3 separate regions of the Homo sapiens genome follow, and all the other regions are linked to region 1. The links are contacts of gene promoters, found by promoter capture Hi-C in blood cells and fetal thymus (Javierre and others, 2016). All regions are on one chromosome and are shown on one strand. The core of a region is centred on a gene start or on the middle of the fragment in contact, and the rest is flanking DNA. Distances in the headings are between cores, read along the strand shown. Region 1 holds the start of HPS5 (HPS5 biogenesis of lysosomal organelles complex 2 subunit 2). Region 2 overlaps SPTY2D1 (SPT2 chromatin protein domain containing 1). Region 3 has its middle 23 kb from the start of TMEM86A.

Region 1 (3,764 bases), core at 854-3,353:
ATGTCCTGGAAGTTATAATATAATGCGGGGGTGTGCAGGGGGACACACCTAGTAAGTTCTACTGAAAAGAAAAAAAGAATTTAACAGAAATGAGAATGGAAAATAAAAACAGCATAAGCAATGCCAATTCTCAGAGAAGCTGCTGAATGACAGTGTTAAACCAACTTCAACTTTATACTTTATGTTTACTCTCCCTGAAATGACTGCTTCCCTTCCAGATTTTCTTATCCAAACATACCCAGCTTTCAAGATCGCACATGAGCCCTACTTCCTAGAATTCTCAAGATGGAAAAAGATTCATAGGTAATTCAGTGAACATGTCCACCTAATTCAGAAATTAGTTTTGCCCTAGATCCCTGAACATTTTCAGCCATGGAAAGAAAGCACTCACTCTCATGAAGCTGCCAATTCCAGTCCTCCAAAGGGCTCACTATTATAAGGTTCTTTTTAATACTATGCTGAAGCCTGATCACTTAGAGCTCTACCATTATTCCTAATTGTATGTAGCTTCTACAGCTGAAGGGAACAAGCTGTCTCTTTCCAAAACAATCCTTCTGTATTTGAAAAGCATTATCAGGTCTTCTAAAAATTTAACATTCCCAGTTTCTTCATCACTCCTGACATGACATTTTCCAACCCTCTGTTCCAGTCAACCTTCTACAGAGGCACTGTAGTTTGCCTAAAAATGAGGTGCCTAGAACTGAGCATAATACTCCTTAAGTAGTTAGATGAGCCCAGAATAGAGTAGAAACACTAACTTCCTGGATCTAGACACTAAGTTTCTATATTACAACCTAAAAACAGTATTAGTTGTGTTTAAGTGGCCATGTTACACATTGATTCAACAGAGCAAGTGGTCAACTAAAACCCAAAGAAATTGTTTACATAAATAAAATCTTCTTAGCCAGTAGCTACATACAGTAGAACTGAGCTCAAATTGAAAGCTGCTATTAATCAAATGCAACAATGGATATAAAAAGTACCTAGAAATGTACAAACAGTATAAAGAGGAACAGCAGAATGCTGATAATTGTTCAAGTTGCGTTAAGTGTACATGAGGGTTCAATTTATTATCCTACTTTTGTCTGCGTTTGAAATTTTCCACAATAAAATTTAAAAAATATATACATAATATTGTACAAGCCTTCAACAGCTCTATTTCTTGAAAATCTGTTATCTCCTCCCTGCTTCTTTTTCCAGCCTTATTTCCCATCTTAACCTCTCTATTCTCCAACTACATTGGACTCGACTCTTTTTTTCTTTTTCATTCCATAAACTTGCTGTGCCTCCATGGTTTAATATATGATGTTTATGGAATCTTCCCCCATTTACCAAAACCCTACCTTTCTGCAAAGCTGAGTTTAAATGTTACTTCTGTGAAGGCACTCTACCAAAAACTAAGAACATAGAAGTTGGCGACAAATGCTTAACCAAAGTAAATGAAACAACTTTTGGGAGACTGGCTTGCCCAAGGATCACAGAGTTCATAAATGGTAGAGCTGAGATTAGAATACGCGTCTCCTGAATCCAAATCTCATCTTTCCATTATCGTAAAATAGTTCAGTGTTTGTTGCTCACACATCAAATGCAAACATGTTTCTCTTTTGCCCCAGTAGGTGCGTGGAGGAAGAGGAGAAAGAAGTAAGAAAGATAGCAAAAATTGAAGAAATGAGAAGGGGAAGTTGCAGACTGCCTCATTTTCACAATGGGATCTTTCTATCCAAGAAGAAATGATCAGAAAACAACTCTCTGCCTCAGACAAATGGCGACTGACTCATTTATACATTCATTCATTCAACATTCTGAGTGCCTACTATGTTCCAGGACCTGAACACACCGCTAGAGACACAGGGATGAACAAAACACAATCCCTACCCACAAAAAGCTCCTTGCCTAGTGGAACTACTACCTTTTTAACAGCAGTAACTTTAATATCTTGAGATTTCTTGAGAGGAGACCCAGTAACCAATTTTCAAAGCCAGGCTCACAGACCAGCAGCCCGGAGGTCCCAGCCCAGCTCCACCACATCCAGGGCAGTACCTCGCAGCTCTCAGTAGATCGGATCTTGTCTCCCGGCTTAGCGCCGGGGAACTCACCGCGCACTAAGAGCGGAACGTGAACTTCAGTCTCCCCTCGCGTTCCTCCCCTTCCTTGCTGACGTCATCCAGGAGAGCCGCAGACTGGAAACAACGCTACTAACGGCACTTCCTCATCACGTGACGAGTCACGCCCCTCCTTCCGCGTGGTCCCTCCCCCTCAGGCCGCGGTCGCGATTACGCTCTCTACGGCCTGCGACCGCAGGGCCGTTGCGGGCTGGAGACACGGCGCCGACTGGAACCGGAGGAGCTCTAGGCCAAATGGTTGGGCCAGCCAGGATCCCAGGACCCTTCGCCGCTCGAGACCGGAGAGAGGAAACGAAACAGGCGGGAACCCGTGGGGGAGGGAGGGAACTAGCGGAAGGTGTCATGGCGGCCGCGCTCTTGAGTCACGTGCCCAGGGCCCGCCTTGCTACTTCCGGTCACGTGCCCTCAGACTCCTCGCAGCCAGCGATGGAGGCGAGACCCCCTAGTAACAGAGGCGGTGGCTACTGCTGCGGCCACTGGGTTTCGGCCTCTTCCCAGCAGCGGCTCTAAGAAGCGCAGCGGAACTCGACCGGATCCAACCCAGTTAGTTACTTCCTGTCTAGAGTTGTAGCTTCCACCTGGTAAGTTTAGACCGAAGAATGCAGGCGGGCGGGTGGGTGGGCGGGTGAGGAGCTGACAGGCCTGGGGGCCGCTGGACGGCGTGGATTCTACCCCTGTTCCCAGCGTCGCTGTCGCCGTCCTCCCAACGCCCAAGCCTGGCGTCTTGTTTGCCCTTATCCCGAGGCGAGGAAGAGGCGACCCCTAATCTACTTGTCTAAAGGAAACCTGCTCTTAAATTGAGAGCAGGTTTACCCAAAGCCAGGATCAGATTTGGCTTATGAGAATGAAGTGGAGGCCTCTCCCAGACAGAGAAGCCCTTCCCGTCAGGAAATGTGCTGTTGAGTCTGGGATTCTGTAAGAGAAAAGCTGTCACCTTGTTGTCTGCACACCTTTTGCTTCCACCTGTCAATCTTACCTCTCTTAAAAACCTTAACACGTGCCAGTCCACACACTCCTAGTTTTGGTCATTTGATTGTCGTGTAATGATGAAAAATAGACCATGAGTACCTGGATATATGTAATTATTTTGTAAATCCCCCAGTGTTCTCAAAGGCCAAATTAAATAAGGAGGTGACTTTTCTTATTTTTTTTTAAGAGACAGAGTCTTGTTCTGTCGTCCTGGCTGGAATGCAGTGGCGTGATAATAGCTCACTGTAACCTCGAATTCCTGGGCTCAAGCGATTCTCCTGCCTAGACCTCCCAAAGCGCCAGAATTATGCTACAGTGCCTGGCCCCAAATGACTCCTAAACTCCAATTTTAGCATCAGTAAAATGGGGATGGGGAAAGAAGATATGAAAAATACACCCTTTGTCCATTTGAAGACCCAGTCTTAAAAACAAAAACAAAAAAAAAACTGAGTGGTTTGAATGAAATGTGCTTTGCAGTGAGTATTGACTCCATACAAACCAATATCCAGACTTGTGATTTTCAAACATTTTAAAGGAGTGGAACAATTTCTCCCCATGAATTTTTATCTGGAACCCAATATATAAAGCAGCATGCTCTGGTGGAACTAAATTTAAAAGGGCCAGGCCCCACCACCCCACTTAACTTCTATCCTAGAGGCCACTCCTTGGAAC
Region 2 (4,007 bases), core at 594-3,093, 300 kb after region 1:
CAGCACTTTGGGAGGCGGAGGCGGGCGAATCATGAGATCTGGAGTTCGAGATCAGCCTGGCCAACATGGTGAAACCCCATTCCTACTAAAAACACAAAAAATTAGCTGGGCGTAGTGGCGGGTGCCTGTAATCCCAGCTACTCAGGAGGCTGAGGCAGAAGAATTGCTTGAACCCGGGAGGCAGAGGTTGCAGTGAGCCGAGATTGTGCCACTGCACTGTAGCCCGGGCGACAAAGTAAGACTCCGTCTCAAAAAAAAAAAAAAAAAAAAAAAAATCTGATTTAGGCCAGGTGCGGTGGCTCACGCCTATAATCCCAACACTTTGGGCGGCTGAGGTGGGAGGATTACCTGTGGTCAGGAGTTAGCAACCAGCCTGGCCAACATAGTGAAACTCCGTCTCTACTAAAAATACAAAAATTAGCCGGGCATGGTGGCGCACATCCGTAATCCCAGCTGCTTAGGAGGCTGAGGCAGGAGAATGGCTTGAACCCAGGAGGCAGAGGTTGCAGTGAGCCGAGATTGCGCCACTGCACTCCAGGCTGGACAACAGAGCAAAACTCCGTCTCAATCCATCAATCTATAAGTAAGTAAGTAAGTAAGTAAATGTATAAAATTCTGAGTTTAAAAATAGCCTGCCTTAGAAAGAAGCATTTCAAAGTCCAACTTTTCAAACGAACAGAAAAAACTACTCCTCACAACTATTTTCTCTCCTGACTACTCCAGATGATTTCCTAGTAGAGACTCATAGCTACATGTTTTATTTTGCTTAGAACACGGAAACACTGAGGTTTTACTTTGACCACACACAAAGGCTGGGGCAAACCACAGCAAAAAAGCATTTCAAAAAATCTATGCAATAAAGGCCCAATTCCCAGCAACCTTTAACTGTAGCTCTTATGTTCACTAAATGTTAATTTGCCTCACAACCTCCTTTTTAGACAGGTTCCTATAACACCCAAAAAAAGCTTACATTATCCTGGCACAGATGAAGTCTCTGGACCTCAGTTTTTATATAACTGCATCAAGAAATTACTAAACTCAAGTAATGTTAATTTGAACTATAAAAGGAAAAATATTTCCACTTTATAAGTACCTATTATGAGAGAAATATGACGAACATAGAGCTAAAATAAATTCAGACCAGGGATGATTCACCTCTACGACCATTCCACATTAAATCCAGGAAATAAGATTTTTAAAGTATCCTCCTTTTTTTGTTTTGTTAGGCAGATGCATTCTCATCTAACGTACCTGTTGCTGTGGCTAGCAGAAAAAGAAACATGTCCAAGAACAAATTGAGACAACTTAGGAACAACTTAGGAACCAAAAAAGTATTCCCAAATATGTATGAAATTCTTGGAGGAAAACCAAAAGATATGTGCTTACTATAAGGCTGCCAAATACGACGTATCTTGAAACAGGCTGGAAGTTTCAACTAAATTAGTCTGCCAACAAAGCAGCTGGCCAAGGAAGCAGGCTCTAATTCAACCTGAAAATCTTGCATGATAGCAATGCTGAGAAGTGACATATCCCTAATAGAGAGAAGTCCCAAGACAGCATCCAGATTTCTTTCCCAGTCACCTTGGCTAGGCCATAGTGAGATCCTTTAAAGTCCATATCTTTGTAAATTTAATTTTAGACTCTTTCCATAGTGGATAGGGGCTCAATATTTAAAGGAGAAAAGGGAGAAAGAAAGGGAGAGGAGAAAGGAGAAGTAATACTGCTAACCTAACTAGATATATATAAAATTGCCCTTGTTTACAAGAAAAGAACCACAAACATAGGTATTAATCACAAGGAGCTTACATTTTCATTGTGGAAAGGGCACCATGAATATGATTCAAATGAAGACATACAAAAAACTCATAAGCAGAGGCACACACTCACTCCACTCCATCCCATTAAGGGATTTGGAAGCAGAAGAAGGTGGATTTTTTTTCACTAACACTTAAGATTTTCCTGGCCAGGCGCAGTGGCTCAAGCCTGTAATCCTAGCACTTTAGGAGGCTGAGGCGGGAGGACAGCTTGAGCCCAGGAGTTAAGACGCCAGCCTGGACAACATGGTGAGAACTCATCTCTTTAAAAAAAAAAAAAAAAAAAAGGCTGGGTGCAGTGACTTACACCTGTAATCCCAGAACTTTGGGAGGCTGAGGCAGGCGGATCACAAGGTCAGGAGATCGAGACCATCCTGGCCAACATGGTAAAACTGCATCTCTACTAAAAATACAAAAATTAGCTGGGCGTGGTGGTGCCTGCCTGTAAGCCCAGCTACTTGGGAGGATGAGGCAAGAGAATTGCTTGAACCAGGGAGTCGGAGGCTGCAGTGAGCCAAAATTGCGCCACTGCACTCCAGCCTGGTGACAGAGCAAGACTCCGTCTCAATAAACAAAAAACAAAAATTTCCTGTCCCTGTCCATTATATAGCTCATAGAGTTACAAAGCCCCATACAAATCAAAGCCCCATGCAAGGTTTTCCCCAAGAAAAATGCAAATACATATATTAGCATTACTTATTTTAAACAGGACTGGTTTGCTGTCCAAATAACCCAGCATTGAGCACTATCTAACATGATTTTGGGATAGATATCTTTCATCTTAACCTGGGACTGCAAGAGATAGAAAGTGGGATATGACAAACCGAAAAGCTGCTCTTGACTGAATACTGGTATCCAAAAGGGAAAACATCAGTGTCAATGGGGCATAGTTTAATGCAGTGTTCAGTAAGCTTCAGTCATTTGCATACTACCTTTATGATTTTTGCCTTTGTGGTATACTACCCCTACCATTACTTACTAATTTAAAAAAACATACAGAGTTGGCCAGGTGCGGTGGTTCACGCCTGTAATCCCAGCACTTTGGGAGGACAAGGCGGGCAGATCACTTGAGGTCAGGGGTTCGAGACCAGCCTGGCCTCGAACTCTGGTGAAACCCTGTCTCCACTAAAAGTACAAAAATTACCCAGGCATGGTGGCTCACGCCTGTAGTCCCAGCCAGTTGGGAGGCTGAAGCACGAGAATCACTTGAACCCAGGAGGCAGAGGTTGTAGTGAGCCAAGATCACGCCACTGCATTCCAGCCTGGGCAACAGAGTGAGACTCGGTCTCAAAAAAACAAAAACAAAAACATCATGAGCCGTTATTATAGCTTTACCTCAGCAATAATATCCACAAAATGACTGACTTGAACAACTAGTTATATTTTTCCAATTCATATAAAAATACATACTATTAAGCCGGGCACGGTGGCTGACACCTTTAATCCCAGCACTTTGGGAGGCCAAGGCGGGCGGATCATGAGGTCAGGAGATTGAGACCATCCTGGCCAACACAGTGAAACCCTGTCTCTACTAAAAATACAAAAAACTTAGCCAAGCGTGGTGGTGGGCACCTGTAGTCCCAGCTACTCGGAAGGCTGAGGCAGGAGAATGGCGTGAACCTGGGAGGCGGAGCTTGCAGTGAGCCGAGATCGCGCCACTGCACTCCAGCCTGGGCAACAGAGCAAGACTCTATCTCAAAAAAAAAAAAAAAATACTATTAAAATAAAAAATATTTTATTTGTAAAAAAATGTAGAAATATTTTAAATGGTATATTTGTATACCATTTATATCCAGGCCCTATATGTGCTGCTCTTTAAAAACACTGACTGAGGCCGGGCGTGGTGGCTCATGCCTGTAATGCCAGCACTTTGGGAGGCTGAAGCGGGTGGATCACCTGAGGTCAGGAGTTCGAGACCAGCCTGGTCAACTTGGTGAAACCCCATCAAAATACAAAAATTAGCCAGGCGTGGTGGTGGGCACCTGTAATCCCAGCTACTCTGGAGGCTGAGGCAGTAATTGCTTGAACCCAGGAGGTGAAGGGTTGCAGTGAGCCGAGATCGCACCACTGCACTTCAGCCTGGGTGATTGTACTCTACCCTGGGTGAGAAGAGTGAAACTCTGTCTCAAAAAACAGAAAAGAAAAGAAAAGAAAAGAAAAGAAAAGAAAAGAAAAGAAAAGAAAAGAAACACT
Region 3 (3,858 bases), core at 47-2,546, 350 kb after region 1:
GTGGAATTTATTGCCAGAATCATCTGGATCCACAAATCTCTCCCTGGTCAGGAAGATAGCAGATGAAACACGATAGGAAAAATATCAAGTCCTGAATTTAGATCCAGAAAACTGTGAAGTACAGGATGGAAGAAAATATTTTGGAATTTAATTAACTGCAACCTCAGCCTAAGGCAGCAAGGACAATGTGACCATCAAAAGAGCTGACTCTTCCCCTCTGGTCACATGCAAGCACTATTTTTTTTTTTTTTTTTTGAGATGGAGTCTTGCTCTGTGGCCCAGGCTGGAGTGCAGTGGCTTGATCTCGGCTCACTGCAACCTCCGCCTCCTGGGTTCAAGCGATTCTCCTGCCTCAGCTGGGATTACAAGCGCGTGACACCATGCCTGGCTAATTTTTGTATTTTTAGTAGAGACGGGGTTTCACCATGTTGGCCAGGCTGGTCTTGAACTCCCGACCTCAGGTGATCCACCCACCTCGGCCTCCCAAAGTGTTGGGATTACAGGGGTGAGCCACCGTGCCCAGCCTCTCATACCACTTTCTAAGGTCACGGCTTAGGTAGCTTGGTTGCCATGTCCAAACAAATCTTGCCATCTGCAACCTTCTTCCCCAGATATTTCCCAACAGCCTCAGTTGTCCTATTGCTTGTGTACTTTATGAAACACTGATATATTAATTTTAACTATTACCTAACTTACTGCAATACATTAGGCCTTTGTATAGATAGAAAGTGTCAAGGGTCAAGAAAAATGCATGAAATAAAAATTAAAGGCTGACCCACTGTGCTCGGCCAGTGATTTATATTATATTCTTTATGCTTTATTATGCTTTCTAAAGTTCTCATAATCTGTATATACATTACTTTTTTTTTTTTTTGAGGTGGAGTTTCCCTCTTGTTGCCCAGGCTGGGATGCAATGGCGCAGTCTCGGCTCACTGCAACATCTGCCTCCCAGGTTCAAGTGCTTCTCCTACATCAGCCTCCCAAGTAGCTGGGATTACAGGTGCCCGCCACCACACCTGGCTATTTCATTTATTTATTTATTTATTGTAGTTTTGGTAGAGATGGGGTTTCACCATGTTGTCCAGGCTGGTCTCAAACTCCTGACCTCAGGTAATCCACCCACCTTGGCCTCCCAAAGTGCTGAGATTACAGGCGTGAGCCACCACGCCCAGCCTATGTTACTTTCATAACCATAAAAGTTCTTTATAATAGCCTGTAAGGCAAAAAATATTTCCCCTAAGTTTTGAAAAGGGCCATACTGCAATGATAGAATCATGATACTGGAAGGAACTGCTTAAAAATCTTTTGAATGGGTCTTCATGCCTCCCCTCCACACTCCACTGTCACTACTCCAGTTCAGATCTTCTGCATTCTTTTTGTGGACTATTGCAACAGCTTCCTAATTGCTCTCCTTACCTCCAGTACTGACTATGCCCTCCCATTCTCCACATTGGTTGCTGCTGGAATGATCTTTCTACAATGAAAATCTGATAATTCACCTCCTATCTGAAAATCTTCATGGCTCCCATGAACTTCATCGCAAAGTTGAAACTCTAGCAGAGCAGGCCCACCACAATCTGGTCCTCAAACACACACCTCTTCCTGCTTCCTTGCCCACCATTCTCCCTGGTACCCTAAGCTCCAGACACACCTAGTCATTTTCTGTCACTCCTCTGCATCTTTGCACACATGTGATATTCTGGCTGGTAAACCCTGCCTTTTTTTTTTTCTTTTTTTTTTTTTTTGAGATGGAGTTTTGCTCTTTGGCCCAGGCTGGAGTGCAGTGGTGTGATCTTGGCTCACTGCAACCTCCACCTTCTGGTTTCAAGCGACTCTCCTGCCTCAGCCTCTGGAGTAGCTGGGATTACAGGTGCCCACCACCATGCCCAGCTGATTTTTGCATTTTTAGTAGAGACAGGGTTTTGCCATGTTGGCCAGGCTGGTCTCGAACTCCTGACCTCGTCATCTGCCCGCCTCGGCCTCCCAAAGTGCTGGGATTACAGGTGTGAACCACCGTGCCCAGCCCCAACCTTGCCTATCTTTTAAGCTATCAGATATCCCTTCCCTAGGAAGCCTTCTCAGATATCTCTCTCTGAAGGCAGCATTAGCCTTTCTTGGTACTCAATCTATTTACGGATTTATTGATTCTTATGTCTGTCTCCCACATAAAGATGCACCTCCTTAAAGACTGTTATGTGTTAACTTTTAAATAAATGCTCACATGTGCAAGGCCCTGTGGTAGGCATTGGCATATCAAAAAATAAATTGTTTTCTTGGCTGGGCGCGCTAGCTCACGCCTGTAATCCCAGCATTTTGGGAGGCCAAGGCAAGTGGACCACTTGAGGTCAGGACTTTGAGGCCAGTCTGGCCAACATGGTGAAACCCCCGTTTCTACTAAAAATAAAAAAATTAGTTGGGCGTGGTGGCACGTGCCTGTAGTCCCAGCTATTCGGGAGGCTGAGGCAGGAGAATTGCTTGAACCTGGGAGGCAGAGGTTGCAGTGAGCTGAGATTGCACCACGACACTCCAGTCTGGAAGACAGAGTGAGACTCTGTCTTAAAGTATATATATATATATATAGTTTTCTTTGCCTCTGCCCAGCACCTAGCACATGCTTATTCGATGAATGGCTCAATCAATGAGTTATTAGCACAGAGGTTCAGACTTTGGTGTGCATATGAATCACTTCAAGAGCTTGTTAAAATACGGATGTCAGGGCCTCACCCTAAAGCCCTGGCATCAGAACTTGTTAGGTGAAGTTTGGTCATGTATATGTCTAACAAGCTTCCCAATGATTCTGATGCATTCCAGTTTGTGAACGTTGAGAAACCCACTTATTTTCAGAAAAGGCCATCCCTAAGTCATTCTAGGCAGTTAAAGGCCCACTCTGAGTTTAAGTTTCCTCAAAGGAAGGAAAGCACAATTTTTTTTTTTTTTTTTGAGACAGAGTCTCGCTATATCACCAGGCTGGTGTGTGGTGGCGCAATCTTGGCTCACTGCAACCTCCGCCTCCCAGGTTCAAGCAATTCTCCCGCCTCAGCCTCCTGAGTAGCTGGGATTACAGGCACATGCCACCACACCCAGCTAATTTTTGTATATTTAGTAGAGATGGGGTTTCACCATGTTGGTCAGGATGGTCTCGATCTCCTGACCTCATGATCCGCCCGCCCTGGCCTCCCAAAGTTCGGGGAATATAGGCATGAGCCACCACACCCGGCCAGGAAAGCACTATTTACTCAATACTTATTAAGTGTCAGGTGCTGTATATTTAGGTGCCTTATATACTTTTCTCATTTAATTCCCACAAAAACTCTCTGAGGGAACTACTTGTCTCCCGATTTCAAAGAAAATTGAGGCTCAGAAAGATTCTGTCACTCGCTCAGGAGAAATTGCTGTGGTAAGAGTCTAACCAGAAGTGGTTGGCCTCCAGAGCTGTTTCCGTGGCCCCAGGCTGCCTCCCATACCTGTCACAGCCAATGCCTCTCTGCTATGTGCCTTGTGTTTGCTGTCCCCAAATACCCACCAACAAACTAGTGCTGGTTCCTGATAGTGCTTTCACCAGGCCTAAGAGAAATGGGAAAAATAAAAGTAATGCAACTCTTTTTACTAAATGATTGACCTCAATTCTGAGATTATTTTCTTCATTTTTATGGTTAAAATGTCTTTTATTTCATAAAGTGATGATGATGGTAGTGGATTGTTTCCTTTTTTAATGTCTGTACTTGGTAAAATAAAAAAAAGTAGGGAACACTAGTTTGGCATCAAAGTTTTGTTGTTGTTGTTGTTTGTTTGTTTGTTTTTTTGAGGCAGAGTCCGGCTCTGTCGCCCAGGCTGGAGTGCAGTGGCGTGATCTTAGCT

What was found. The method cuts DNA at HindIII sites, captures the fragments that hold promoters and counts their contacts. A CHiCAGO score of 5 or more calls a contact.
Region 2: a contact is called between a fragment that was not itself captured here and the fragment with the promoter of HPS5 in region 1, in 13 of 17 cell types (neutrophils, naive CD4 T cells, total B cells and 10 more). The highest score is 9.6, in neutrophils.
Region 3: a fragment that was not itself captured here is called in contact with the fragment with the promoter of HPS5 in region 1 in 1 of 17 cell types (total CD4 T cells); the score reaches 5.4 in total CD4 T cells.

Annotation. Positions count from the first base shown.
Region 1 is chr11:18,320,037-18,323,800 of GRCh38, forward strand. HPS5 (HPS5 biogenesis of lysosomal organelles complex 2 subunit 2) reads right to left here and starts at 2,104. Exons shown (of 23, transcript NM_181507.2): 1 at 1,910-2,104. GTF2H1 (general transcription factor IIH subunit 1) reads left to right here and starts at 2,531. Exons shown (of 15, transcript NM_005316.4): 1 at 2,531-2,704. RefSeq lists enhancers at 1,602-2,551, 1,689-2,888, 1,779-2,078, 2,089-2,508. The HindIII fragment of the contact is 9,902 bases long and covers 1-3,764 here.
Region 2 is chr11:18,617,376-18,621,382 of GRCh38, forward strand. All of the region lies in intron 1 of SPTY2D1 (SPT2 chromatin protein domain containing 1), which reads right to left. Among named protein-coding and RNA genes, the nearest start is that of SPTY2D1, 15 kb to the right of the region's middle. The HindIII fragment of the contact is 1,760 bases long and covers 964-2,723 here.
Region 3 is chr11:18,674,312-18,678,169 of GRCh38, forward strand. No RefSeq gene overlaps it. Among named protein-coding and RNA genes, the nearest start is that of TMEM86A, 23 kb to the right of the region's middle. The HindIII fragment of the contact is 2,972 bases long and covers 1-2,782 here.